Regions from separate parts of the Homo sapiens genome. Here regions 1 and 2 are each linked to region 3. The links are contacts of gene promoters, found by promoter capture Hi-C in blood cells and fetal thymus (Javierre and others, 2016). All regions are on one chromosome and are shown on one strand. The core of a region is centred on a gene start or on the middle of the fragment in contact, and the rest is flanking DNA. Distances in the headings are between cores, read along the strand shown. Region 1 overlaps ELP1 (elongator acetyltransferase complex subunit 1). Region 2 overlaps ELP1 (elongator acetyltransferase complex subunit 1). Region 3 holds the start of FRRS1L (ferric chelate reductase 1 like).

What was found. Contacts are between HindIII fragments. The CHiCAGO score rates a contact against its expected background, and 5 or more counts as called.
Region 1: a fragment that was not itself captured here is called in contact with the fragment with the promoter of FRRS1L in region 3 in 2 of 17 cell types (activated CD4 T cells and naive CD4 T cells); the score reaches 5.6 in activated CD4 T cells.
Region 2: a fragment that was not itself captured here is called in contact with the fragment with the promoter of FRRS1L in region 3 in 4 of 17 cell types (non-activated CD4 T cells, naive CD8 T cells, naive CD4 T cells and 1 more); the score reaches 6.0 in non-activated CD4 T cells.

The regions. Positions count from the first base shown.
Region 1 is chr9:108,901,241-108,905,463 of GRCh38, forward strand. It overlaps ELP1 (elongator acetyltransferase complex subunit 1), which reads right to left. Exons shown (of 37, transcript NM_003640.5): 15 at 2,323-2,429; 16 at 1,599-1,702; 17 at 388-441; 18 at 185-290. Among named protein-coding and RNA genes, the nearest start is that of ELP1, 31 kb to the right of the region's middle. The HindIII fragment of the contact is 1,537 bases long and covers 2,192-3,728 here.
Region 2 is chr9:108,866,266-108,870,766 of GRCh38, forward strand. ELP1 (elongator acetyltransferase complex subunit 1) reads right to left here. Exons shown (of 37, transcript NM_003640.5): 37 at 1,252-2,917. The coding sequence ends at 2,850. Among named protein-coding and RNA genes, the nearest start is that of ACTL7A, 6.2 kb to the left of the region's middle. The HindIII fragment of the contact is 2,322 bases long and covers 315-2,636 here.
Region 3 is chr9:109,164,064-109,168,767 of GRCh38, forward strand. FRRS1L (ferric chelate reductase 1 like) reads right to left here and starts at 3,186. Exons shown (of 5, transcript NM_014334.4): 1 at 2,838-3,186. The coding sequence starts at 3,075. The HindIII fragment of the contact is 4,411 bases long and covers 1-3,438 here.

The DNA of each region.
Region 1 (4,223 bases), core at 1,710-4,209, 260 kb before region 3:
TGCAGAATGATTTAACTGAGATATTATGTTGAGATTAGGGTCTAAGTAAAATAACTCTAAAGATTTTCTCCAGCCTAGGACTCCTTGATAAAAAGCCAAAATAAATGAAGAATTCAAAAAGTCATCAAGACTCCAAAAGACATTGGAGAAGGGACCATTTCTGTTTTATACATTGAAAACTTACTTTTAAATGAAGCATCCCTCAGGCAAAAACACTGGCAGGTATGGGAATGGGTTGTCAACAATAAAAACTCATCATATACTGCAAATGACGTGATATTTGACGCAACCTGCAAGAGAAGGCCAGAGAGGCATGGGTGAAAGCTAGCTAGATTACTCGGAGCTAACACTGTGAAAAGGATCCAACACCAAACCAAGCCTTGATACCTCAATGTCATTGATGAAAAAGCGACACCTGTCAGTCAGACCAAGGACACATTCCTGCAAAGAAATAAAACTGAAATCACAAGCAATTCTATCTCAAATCAGTTAAACCTACCTTTTCTATCACATAGTTCTACCACCCTATGATTTCACACCTAAGTTCCTGTAATCAGGACTAAAGATAGATACCTAAGACGTGGCTGGTCCAGTGCAAAATGGAATGTGAAGCCATCCAATCCATCAGTGAGCCCTGACATCTCCATCTCCTACACATATCTCAAACCCATCTCCTTTTTCCCCTCACTAACTCCACTCAACCGGTGTTGATCCCATATTCCAGTCTCGTCACTCTCCAATCAAGTCTCTTCTGGGCAGCCAGAATCACTGTCCAAACCATGAAGCAGAACACATTACTCTGTTATTAAAAATCACAAGAAGTTTCTAATCTTTGTTCAATTAAAGAACCCAAATTCCCTCCTATGACTGTCACTGAGCTCCAGCCACAATACTTCCATCCAGTCCCTTGAATAAGATGAGCTCTTGCTAAGCTCAAGGAGTTTGTTGTTCCTTCTGCCTGGAGACAGAGCCTTCTTTTTCTTCACATCTCAGCACACACATCACTGCCTCCGAGAGGCCTTCCTGGACCACCAGATGCAGGACTCCCATTCTCATAGCCACCATCCTCAAATTACCCCTCAAACATCTCAGTATTCTCTACCAGTATACTCTGTCCATTTCCATCACACTCCCAACAAAGGGAATCATTACATTGAAATTAATAGATCACAAGTTCCAGAAGAGCAGGAATTAGTCAAGCGGTTTTGTTTTCCAGCCACTGCATTCTACCATCCACCACAATTATAGGCATTCTAGTATGTGTTGAATAAAAATCTACTAAAACTATTCTCAAGATCACATTTCTGTTTCCCCTCCTAAATAAAATTAACTTTGAATGATTTGTACAACTAGGGATAAAAGGTTGCTAATCACATATATTATCTCATTTAGTCTTCTGAACCCTGATAGACAGATACTGATTTTCCCATTTTATAGATGAATAAGGTGTGGCTTATGAAAGTGAGATCATTTCCCACTATTGTCTAGGCATTTAGTGGAGACCCAAGTCCACCTCCAAAGCCCACGCTCTTTCTACTTAATGCCATCAGTCCCTGGGTAACTACTTTAAGTAAATTTCCTGCTCCGTGTTCACCTACCTCTTCTCCAATCATGGCCAATTCGGTCTGGGTGCATGGATAAGGAAACCGAACAGGAAATCCACCAGAGTTCTTCCATGGTTTAATAGCCAGAGAAGGTGACTCTGCAAGATTCACAGATCTAGTTCACAAATAGCTGATGCGCTCTTTGCAAAAAACCATCAACATCAACATTTGCTAAAACACTTAACATGCAATTTCAATCACTTTTTTTCTCTAATGCTGGCATTATTTATTTATATATATATTTTTATTATACTTTAAGTTCTAGGGTACATGTGCACAATGTGCAGGTTTGTTACATATGTATACATGTGCCATGTTGGTGTGCTGCACCCATTAACTTGTCATTTACATTAGGTATATCTCCTAATGCTATCCCTCCACCCTCCCCCACCCCACGACAGGCCCAGGTGTGTGATGTTCTCCTTCCTGTGTCCAAGTGTTCTCACTGTTCAGTTCCCACCTATGAGTGAGAACATGCGGTGTTTGGTTTTTTGTCCCTGCGATAGTCATCAATCACTTTTTTAAGAGTACGTTAGTTCATTAAAAGAGGAAACAGGAGTAGAATACACTTGCCAATTCCACTCTAAAGCTTAGGGTTTTCCAGGGTAGTTAAAAGACCTGACAATCAATATTGAACTGACAAGATACAAGTACATGTTCTTAAGAACTAAGCATCTATGTAAGTCATAACATGCTTTCCTAACACCTTGATACTCACCCCAAAGGTACTTAAATATCTGGCCATCAGCCAGCTGTAATACTACTGACTTGGTCTTGGAATTGCAACATAGACTGATTATGACCCCATCCACCGCTGCAGATGAACTGACAAAAAAAAGGAGAAGGGAGTGTAAACAGACCATTTTTCTCAAAAATAGTGACATTTCACTGATTTTGAAAATCAACAATTTCCTTTTGATGCTGCACTACCTACTTCAATACAATGTAGACAAAATACATATATACACACCCAATACTATACACACACACACACACACACACACACACTTATACACTTAGAGACAGACGGTTAGATGAATAGATAAAACTACTCCAAACCAAAGCCCAGATAAAGCCACATCTGCTACATGACACCATTTTCCACAAACCCAATAAGGTAGTTGTTTACACTGTGAAGTCATCATTCCTCTTCTGGCCACAACTTACTGCAACTTATTACAAAGTATTGCCTTCATTAGACATGGATGGTACCAATATCATTTCTGTCTGCTTAAAATAGTTAAAGCAGCTGGTCTGTAGGAAAATGAGCACACTCAATATCTCTATCACTATCATATCGATTGATGGAAAATTGTGGATTTTCACTAATGAGATGAAGGGAATTTGTTATCACCATTACATTTTTTCCCTGAGTCAATGGAGCGAAGTAAAATTTCACTATTTTTTTTTTTTTTTTTGGACAGTGTCTTGCTCTGTTGCCCAGGTTGAAATGCAGTTGACACAATCACAGCTCACCGCAATCTCAACCTCCTAGGCTCAAGTGATCCTCCCACCTCACCTTCTCAAGTAGCTTGGACCATAGCCACGGAAGCAGAATTTCTCAAAAGAGGAGGAAGAGGTAGTGATTAAAAAAAGAAAAAAGAGACAAAGAAGTAGTGATAAAAGCAAATGATGTTAATGCTAACATTTAATTCAAAGTTTTTAACCAATCTACAAAAAAACTAAACATTATAACAATAGGGAATTCCTCTACAAATGCTTCAAATTTTGTGAGGATAAATTATCTGTCAAGAAGAGAACAAACTCTGGAGCTAGACTCGCTGGGATTTGATCCTGGCTCCACCTGCATGATCTCAGGCAAGTTATCTAACTGCTCCATGTCTTAGTTGTCTCATCTGTAAAATGATGGTGCAAATGGCATATACTTTACAGAGGTATTATGAGAAATAAGTAAGCTAAAACAGACAAAGCATTTAGAAGAGTATTTTTTACAAAGTATAAGCTAAAGTAAATGTAAACTAAATCGAGGGACTTTGTAGTCCTCAAAAGCATTAATATTTTATATGAACAAAACAGTCTTTTTGAGAAATAAAAGTCAAAGCAGTAGAAATATACTGTAAATGACTTCTCATTTCCTTTACAGCAAATGAGATGACTGCATCAAGCTTTTGCCTCTACAAGCTAATGATGAAGAATTTCAAATCTGAAGAAGTAGAAACTTAGTAAATTGCTCCGCTTTTCAAAAGGTAATCTAATGGCTTACTTTAAGTGCTACATATTTCTAGAACATATTCTGCATTTAGACATGTTAACAAAAGGCTTTTTCAAAATATCACGAAAGACTATGAGTCAAAGAGTAGCAGCAAATGACTGCATTAAAATGTTTTATGTCTATAAATTTATGTAATGTATATATATAAAGGAAAGGTTCCTAATTTTGCAACAACGTTTCTCAGAAATCTCACCAGTAGGGCTTTAATTACAAATTAATCTGGGGATTAGTGTCAGTGGACAAAGGTGCCAAGTATTGACACTGGAAACAAGGAGTTCTGGGAACTGGCTAGAAAATGCTATCAACTATACAACAGGGCTTACATTACACAGAAGAGCATTCATTAACTGAAACCTGTTACATAATGAAGATATAGTCAGGAATCA
Region 2 (4,501 bases), core at 226-2,725, 300 kb before region 3:
GCACAGGCAAGGGCTCAGGGAGCACAGAGAGCACAGAAACACGAGAATCCAAAGCAGGCCTTCAGCACTGCCAAATGTTACCAAATTAGCTTTGTCTTATCTCCAGCCTCGTGAATATGTACAGCTACCTAGCTCCTAAGATGTTTATTTGCACCCAGTTACTAATAAATACAACAAACAAGAAACAACAGCCAAAGACTCCCCAGGGCTTGTCCAGGCGGTGCTTCTAGAGAATATGGGAGTACAATAACCAGCACAAGAGGAAGAACAAATCTAATTTTGCTTCTCAAATTTGCAGTCACCTTAAGTTACCAAGCTTCATCAGTTTTACTTATTTTTAAAAACACCCACTTCAGCTATTGCTATGACAAATCTCTCAAATGTGTATGTATATATACATGCATATATAATTAAATTTAATTTAAAATATGCAGCAGGGCTAAGAAATTGCACCAAGCTACATCCATAAAGGCATATAAAAATTGCTCCTAAGTTTTGTTTTGTTTTGTTTTGTTTTTTTGAGACAGAGTCTTGTTCTTGTCCAGGCTGATGTACAGTGGCACGATCTTGGCTCACTGCAACCTCCACCTTCCCAGGTTCAAGTGATTCTCCTGCCTCAGCCTCCCAAGTAGCTGGGATCACAGGTGCCCACCACCACACCGCCTAATTTTTTTTCTATTTTTAGTAAAGGTGAGATTTCACCATGTTGGCTAGGCTGGTCTCAAACACCTCAGCCTCCCAAAGTGCTGGGATTACAGGTGTGATCCACCGCACCCGGCCTCAGTTTTTTCAAAAGCATAAATTTAAAATGCACTTTGACCGAAGAAGACAGTCTTCTGCAAGTTCCTTCTTGAAGTTTAGAGCATCTGAGCAAAGCTATCTGACTCAATGGAACCAAGAAAAGTGAAGGTTTTAGCTTATTGCAGCATGAACTTGCTTTGGGACAGGATCCAAATTTATGTACTCTTTTCTAAAACTTGACAGACTCTTTCCCCCAAATTAAGCATTCATCACTCAGAGGAGTTTCCTCCTTTTCTCATACACTCAATTTTCCCCCATGAATATTCAATTCTTGGCTTTGCCTCAATTTGGAAGGTCTCCTCCTGCCTGCTTCTTCTAAAAAGGAACAAAATCCAATCCTGCTCAGATGAGAGAAACAGTAATTGATAGTAATTTGCATTCAAACAAATTATTTCTTGCTGCTTCAATACATTATTTAAGGAAACTGAATGTCCAGGAAAATTCACACCATTATCAATAAACACATTTACTTCTATTTCCAGTCTATCAGCATGGGTCCCTTTACAGTTATCCAAAGCAAGAGCACTATATTTCAATATAAGTTACCATGCTTATTTACCCATGCCAAAGAGTGATTACAAAGTACTTGCAGCCTTTCAATATTGGGCACTTAATTACAGCAAACCCATGTAAGTCAAAAAGTAGATTTCTCCAAAGCAAAGTATATCTTCTTTCTCTTCTTTTTAAAAACTCCTATGAGATTGTGAAAATGTTCAAACATACAGAAAAGTTGAATTTTACAGTGAATACTCCTAGATTGATTCTATAGTTAACATCTTGCTATACTGGGAAAGGCTTCTTAAATTACAATTTTGGCTATATCACTTCTTTGAGGATCAAAAGCAGCATTTCCTGTTAGTTTATGTACAGTGCTGTAGTTTAGGCATTTGTTTCCCTAAACCTCATGTTGAAATGTGATCACCAGTGTTGGAAGTGGGGCCCAATGGGAGGTGTTTTGGTCACAGGGGCAGATCCTACGTGAATCGCTTGTGCCATCCTCGTGGTAATGAGTGAGTTTTCACTCTATTAGTTCCTTTGAAAGCTGGTTGTTGTTATAGAGACACAAATGGGCTAAGATACACAGTAAGAAAGGTCTGGTTCTGATATTTAAAACATGGAAGAATTTTTAATCAGAATGAAGTGGGCGTTTTCTAGACTCACCATGAAAATAAAATATTCTCATTTTGAGACAGTTTTTTTTGGTGAGGGCGTGGAGAATTGAATAAAGAGAAGTCAGTAAAGTACCATGACGAAAAATAAATGAAGTGGCCTAGACACTAACAAAAATATCTGAGTTAAAGAAACAGTATTTGGAGAACAGAGAATAATTCACAACCATGCATGCCATACAATGCACACTGATCACTCACACCAACTGTGCATGATACTGTTTAGAAATTCTAATCTGTTCTAGCTCTAACATTGCTAACTCTCTAGCAGAAAATACACAGGCAGTAAAACAGTCCCTATAGACATTGTAATTATAGGAGGCTCAGCCCAGTTATAACTGAAAGCACATGACCTGGTAAGATGTTACAAAATAATAGCTGTCAGCAAAGGAGGGCTTATAATTTCAAAGGATACTTTTTATTCTGCTTTAGTTTAAGGTGACAAGAAGCTATTTAAGTGATTACATTTGACCAAATGTAGCACTAATAGCCATTGTAATCTTCTCCGCCAACAAAATAAGACAATTTAGAAACATTGTTTTACTTGTCTTCACACTTTGGAGGTAGAAATCATGAAACATTAATCTCATGATTACCATAATTATGCTCTCAAACAGCCCAAGTGAAAGAACAATCATTCTCACAAAATGGTGCCATAATGGTTAAAGCTTAATGTCTTGCTAATGATCAAGATGTATACACAACATAAAATAAATAGAATTGCTTGTTGTCTGCTGAAGTTCTTGGCAATGCTAAGGTAAGTTATCATTTTACTCTTTCCAGTTCTCAATAGCCAGCCCTCAAAGAGCAAGGGGTGGTAGGACAACAGGAATGAGTGGAAATGGTCTTCTCTGTCGGATCCCTCCTAACTGCAGTCACTCAGTCTAGCAGGCTCAGCTTCCACTGGGTTCTTCTGTTGATCTTTGGTGGTATAAAAAGCTCAGCATCTAAAAGCAAGAAAGGAAGGGAAATTGTGACAGACATACTCTTGTTGGAGGGCGCTGAGGCAGTAACTCTAAACTAAACAAACTAGGCAGGTGGAGTTTGCAGCAATAAGACCATCAGAGCCAGAGTTCATGTGTCTGCTACCCCTGCAACCTCCAGGTCAGAGCAAACACAACCTGGAGGCCCCGCCCTGAGAGGAGGGACTGCATTTCAACCTCAGGCATGCTCACCCAGTGATTCAAAGTGGAAGAATGTTCTGTATTTCAAACTGGTGGGAGGGGTGGTGGCAGCAGTCACATGGCTGTATACATTTATTAAAACTCATCAAATTGTACACCTGAAATCTCTGCATTTCACTATATGTAAAGTCTAGCTCAATTTTTAAGGAATAGCAAAATGTGATAGCACATATTCAGTAAGTGAAGTTAATGGACAGGAACTACTTTATGATGAAACTTCGACAAACATGTTGATCAATAAAGATGCCCCTGCTTTAAAAAAAGTGAATGGAGAGAGAGGGTTAGGAAAAGATTCTGTCATTGTAACCTAAAACTCCCAGGCACTCTTTCACTTAGATTTGTTAAGTTTCTTTTCTAACCAGGAATCATATACTGCAAGCAGAGATAGGAGAAAATATGTATATATAAGGATTTTCTTTTTCAGCATTATTTATGATAAACTTCCAGCAGTAAATCTGTACATATGAGCCATGCAGGCATGAAAAATTACAGTTGATCCTTGAATGTAGGGTTATGGGTGCGGACCCCCCTGCACAGTCAAAAATCTGCATATACCTTTTTTTTTTCTTTTTTTGAGACAGGGTCTCATTTTGTTGCCCAGGTTGGAGTGCAGTGGCACGATCATGACTCACTGCAGCCTCGACCCCCTGGGTTCAAGCGATTCTCCTGCCTCAGCCTCCCAAGTAGCTGGGACTACAAGTGTACACCACCATACCTGGCTAATTTCTGTAGAGACAAGGTTTCACCATGCTGCCCAGGCTACTCTCAAAACTCCTGGTCTCGTTCCACCCACCTCAGCCTCCCAAAGTGCTGGGATTACAGGTGTGAGCCACCACACCTGGCCCCATGTTTAACTTCTGAATCTCCAAAACTCAAGTACCAATAGCTTACTGTTGTTCGGCAGTGTATTGGCAGCATAAAAAGTCAGTTAACAAATGTTTTGTATGTTATATGTATTATATACTACATTCCTACAATAAAGTAAGCTAGAGAAAAGAAAATATTAAGAAAATCATAAAGAAAACAATATTTACTATTCATTAAATGGAAGTGGATCATCATAAAGGTCTTCATCTTTGTCATCTCCACGTTGAGTAGGCTGAAGTAGAGGAGGAAGTGGAGGGGTTGGTCTTGCTGTCTCAGGGGTGGTAGAGATGAAACAGGTAGGGGAGGTTAAAGAGGAGGCAAGAGAGGTGGGCACACTCAGTGTCACTAACTTTACAGAAATACACCATAATTTCTGATGTTTTTGCTTTTTCATTTCTCTAAGGTACCAATCCTTCCACAGTTTCTTTTAGTTTCAGTGCCCATAACATAGAATCATCCATGTTGTAAAAGAAGCCAAAG
Region 3 (4,704 bases), core at 1,936-4,435:
CCCGCTTTTAAGGCAATGTCACTGTTTATTTCTAAGCGTCTTGGGAAAGTCTCTATTCAGGACCCACAGGGATGAAGCCTAGGCCCAGGGTAATCTAGCAGAGGCACTGCCTCTGATAGCCCCACGCCACTTACATCTCAACTAGCACCCACCGGATGGTGGTAGAATCTGTATGCAAAGAGGAAATGAAACTGTCAGAGAGAAGAGGGTAGGAGAAGAATGGAGAGTAAAAGCTCAGGGTGAGGGAAGGGGAGATATGGTTGTAAAAGGAAGTTGAGCCAGGGAGGACATTTCAGATAAAGCAGTTGAATATTCATTCAGGGAGCAGGTTGATTTTTTTTTTTTTTTTTTGAGACCGAGTCTCACTCTGTTGTCCAGGATGGAGTGCAATGATGCAATCTCAGCTCACTGCAACCTCCCCACCTCCTGGGTTCAAGCAATTCTCCTGCCTCAGCCTCCTGAGTAGCTGGGATTACAGGCGTGCACCACCACGCCCGGCTAATTTTGTATTTTTAGTAGAGACGGGGTTTCACCATGTTGGCCAGGCTAGTCTCGAACTCCTGACCTCCTGATCCACCCACCTCAGCCTCCCAAAGTGCTGGGATTACAGTCGTGAAGCACCACGCCCGGCCCCATCACAGACTTTTGAGTGCAATGCCAACAGGTTAGAGGCAGACTTCAGGAGGGTTAAACCAGTTTTATGTGCAGAATGGTGGGGGCGCGAAGCAGACACACTAGGGATCGGTACAAAGCCCTGCTGCCTGCTATGTGATCACCTCACCTAAATGCCTTCCCTCTTCTGTGTCACTGAAGTCTTTCCTACTTCATGGCTTGACTCTATAAAAGCTGTCCTTGATGGCTGTGGCCCACCTGATGTCCACATTCATAAAACTTTCTGGACTATACAATGAACATATCATTCTCTCTGCAGAGAGACTCAAAGGACGTACAGAATCTGAGCTTATCCTTCATTTGTTAGATGCATGAGCCCAATCAGAATACAAGTTCTCACATACCACATTTAAGTCACCTGGCAGCACTAGGCTGTGTACAGTGTAAAGATACATTAGATGCTTTCAGAAACAGACGGGCTTCGGAATATTTATTCTTTTCCAGAGTGACAGATTCCGCCACATGGCTCTCCAGCTAGAAGACTACATTTCTTAGTCTCCCTTGAAGCTAGGTCATTGTAACTATGTTTTTGCCAAAGGAATGTGAACAGCAGTAATGTGGGCAGCCAGCCTAAAAGGTAACTACTTGCCCTGAACTTCTCTTTTTCTTTCCCTCAATCTTGAACAAGGACATGCAACCTGGCTTCTACTGTACTGATGAGGACAAAGCCTCAGGGGGATGGCAGAGCAACAAGATGGAAAGAACCCGGGTCCCTGAATGACCTTGCGGAACAGAGTCATCCCACCAGCCCCAGACCAACCAGACTCTTATCAGAGAGAAAAATAAACTAGCTTATTTAAACCACTATATGTTAAAATCTCTAATTCAGCAGTTAAGCCTCTACTTAATACATTTCCCCAAATCCATTCTCTCCATCTTCTTTAATACAATAATTCTGATTTTTGAACTGGGCATATTATGTCTCAGCTAATAGGCTCTATTTTACATCCTCCTTTGTACCTATGTGCAACCATATGATTAAGTTGTGGCCAAAGAAGTATAAAAATTGTTATATGAAACTTCCGAGTAATCCCTTTATAAAGTAGTCAGTGACCTTCTTCCTGCTTCATTTTTCCCACTGTCTAGAATGTGAACATAATGGCTGTAGCTCAAGCAGTTATTTTGAACCATGAAGTTACATGCTAAGAATTGTGAAGAAACAGAAGGGCAGGATCCAGAGACACTGGTGACCAAGGAGCCTCCAGACCAGTTCTGGATTACCTATTTCTAGTTTTCTTTCTGTAAGAGAGAAACTTCTATCTTGTTGAAGCTATTAATGTTTGCTTGTTGTATACAGCTGAACTTAATCCTAACAACAGACACATCCACTAACAGATATGAGCTCCTGGGACTCAACACTTCAAACCCCAGCTTGATGGTTGGATATCCCTCTTAGCAGAAGAAAAGGAAAGTCACTACTTCCCAAAGTTGCTTAAAGAGGCCAGTTTCCATTCCTTCTGACCACCATCCGCTTGGCTTTTGTGCTCGTTGAAGCAGCTCTACAGGGAGGCCCTTGGCTGACAAACTCCCAGTCTGCGGGCCCAGCAGGCCACAACAATGGTGGCTCGCACTAGGGGACCATAACATATGTGGCGTCATAAAAGAGGAGGGATGGGAGTGGGGAGGCTGATGTGACCCAGCTCTGACGGGTCAGTGAGCAGGAACAGAATGCTACGAGGTGGGCGCTGGTCACTGCAAATTTAAGTCAATACAGACAGGGAGGAAATAAGGCAACCTCTCTCTTTAGGTTGGGGTTTTTCTGCTTCCCCCTAGCTGCCCTGGCCAGATGGCGGCCTCCTCCCCTATAACCCAACCCCAGGCGGCAAAGGTGGAAGCCAGATCTAAGAACTGGGGGAGCTTAGACTCAGCACCCACCCCTATCCACAGCCTTGCAGAACTTGGATGACCCCTCCCTCTCCCAGCCTCACTCTCCCCATCTGTAAAGCGGGCGGCAGGCATTGACAGCTCTTTGGGCCTTTCCTCCAGGCCGGCGGAGGCCTGGGCACTGCGCTCCCCATCCTGGCCTCGCCTCTGCAAGAGCTGCCTCCACGGACATCTTTTCCGACCCCCTCCCCCTCCCTCGCCCCCTCTCCTCGTTCCCCCGATCCTCGGTCCCCCACCCCCGGTCTCCCCTCCCGCAACCCCTCGCCCTCCCGCAGCCTCACCCTCCTCCGACAGGTAGCGCAGGTCGTAGAACTCCCCCGCGAAGGTGCCGTAGGAGGAGTCGTGGCGCGGCACCGCCTCGTCGGCGCCCGTGTCCCCCCGCGCGCGTCCCCGGGGTCCCCGGCCCCCCGGGCCCGCACCGTCGTCCGCGGGGCTGGCTGCGCAGGCGGCGGGCCCCGTCAGTAGCAGCAGGAGCAGCGACGCCCAGACCCCCGGGTGCTGCCGGGGCGGCCGCGCCATCCGTGCGCACAGATCCCGCAGCCAGGCCGCTCGGGCCGCAGCGGGGGCGCCGCGGGCGCGGGCCGGGACTGAGCCTCCGCCGAGGCCACCAGCACGCGCCCGCGCAGCCGCGGAGCCTCCCGCACCCCCGCCTCCCTGCCTCGGTCTGCGCATCCTCGCTCCAGCACCGCAGCCTCCCCCTTCTTCTTGGAACCCCCCTCCTCCCCGCACCGATCTCTCCTTCCTAGCAGCTTCCCTTCTACCGTCCTTCTTTCCATTCTCCCCATCTCCCCGACTTCCCTCCACGCAGGCAGATTTGGCCCTTCTGGCCCCTTGCTACTCCGGAGTGTGGTCCGCGGACCGGCAGCATCAGCATCACCTGGAAGCTTGTTAGCATCGCTGAGGCCCCACTCCAGACCCATGAAGCGGGATGTTCATTTCATCAAAATTCCCAGGAGATCCCAATGCACGTTCAATTTATGAAACGCTCCTCTAGAGAGTTTACCCTGGACACACCTGGTCAGTGCTGCCTCCTCAACCTTGTGCCGGCACTTTTTGGTTTACATAAAGCACTTGCTAGACCTATTATTTCTTGGATCATCACAGAAGGAACTTGAAATTGCAAGACCCCCACAATAGAGCTAGGTAAACTGAGGTGTTTAGAGACAGAGAAAACTGGATTCACCTGCTTCCTCTCCAGGCTCTTGCGGTGTGTAATCAACAGAGGCTGGTGCCAGTAGGTAACCTGTTCCCCTTCAAAACTAGGCTTCTGGTTTACTCTCTTTCCCTGCAGCAAGCACGCGCAGGCCTTGGAAGGCCCACACCGTATCTGAGGGCCATGCTGAATTGTTGATTTTTCTCAAATCCATTCCTGCTGCTTGCAGTTCACTTTTGGCTATTTACTCAGCCATCCATTGATTCACACCAAGCATTTGCTTTATGGCAGGTCCCAGGGTTCTCTTTTGATGATGGTTGTTGGGGTGATATATTCGAATTGCTAAGCTGTTTTCCATCAGAGAGGCGGACGCAATTCCTTTCAGGCTGGTGTTGCAGAGCCAGCATTTTAACCTGCTTTTCCTATTTTATTATTTTATTTTATTGCATAAACAAAATAATTATGGAGGCAGAAAAGCATAGAGGTCCCAAATGCAGACCTAGAAGTCAGACTGCCTGATCTCTCATGATTAGTCATTGACATGATGCAATGAAGATTAGGGAAGATCATAGAGGTAAGGATCAATAGGGTTCAGTGCTGTAAGTGGCATGCACACATGTACACAATATTGTGAAATGTTAATATTCAAAAGGAAACTAGTGATCTTAACCCTTTATGGCCTGATTGGCTGAGAGATAAGGGTAGTGCTGTTGAAACAGGGGAGACATGATGGGGGACTTAGAAGTCAGGTATTTTCTATTAGGTATCAGCTAACAGTGGGCTGTCCAACTGGAATTTAAACATATTAATCCTGATGGCTGAATTGAGGTGTAATTCATGAAAACCTTGGGCTTCACTAGGTCCCCCAACATAGCAGTTGTCACAAAAAATAGATCAGATTATTTGAAAAAGGTAAGATGAACTATGATTACTTTAAAAACTCAAGAGACTTCTTCCCAAAAAGCATAGCGTGGCAATGCATAACATTCTAAAAA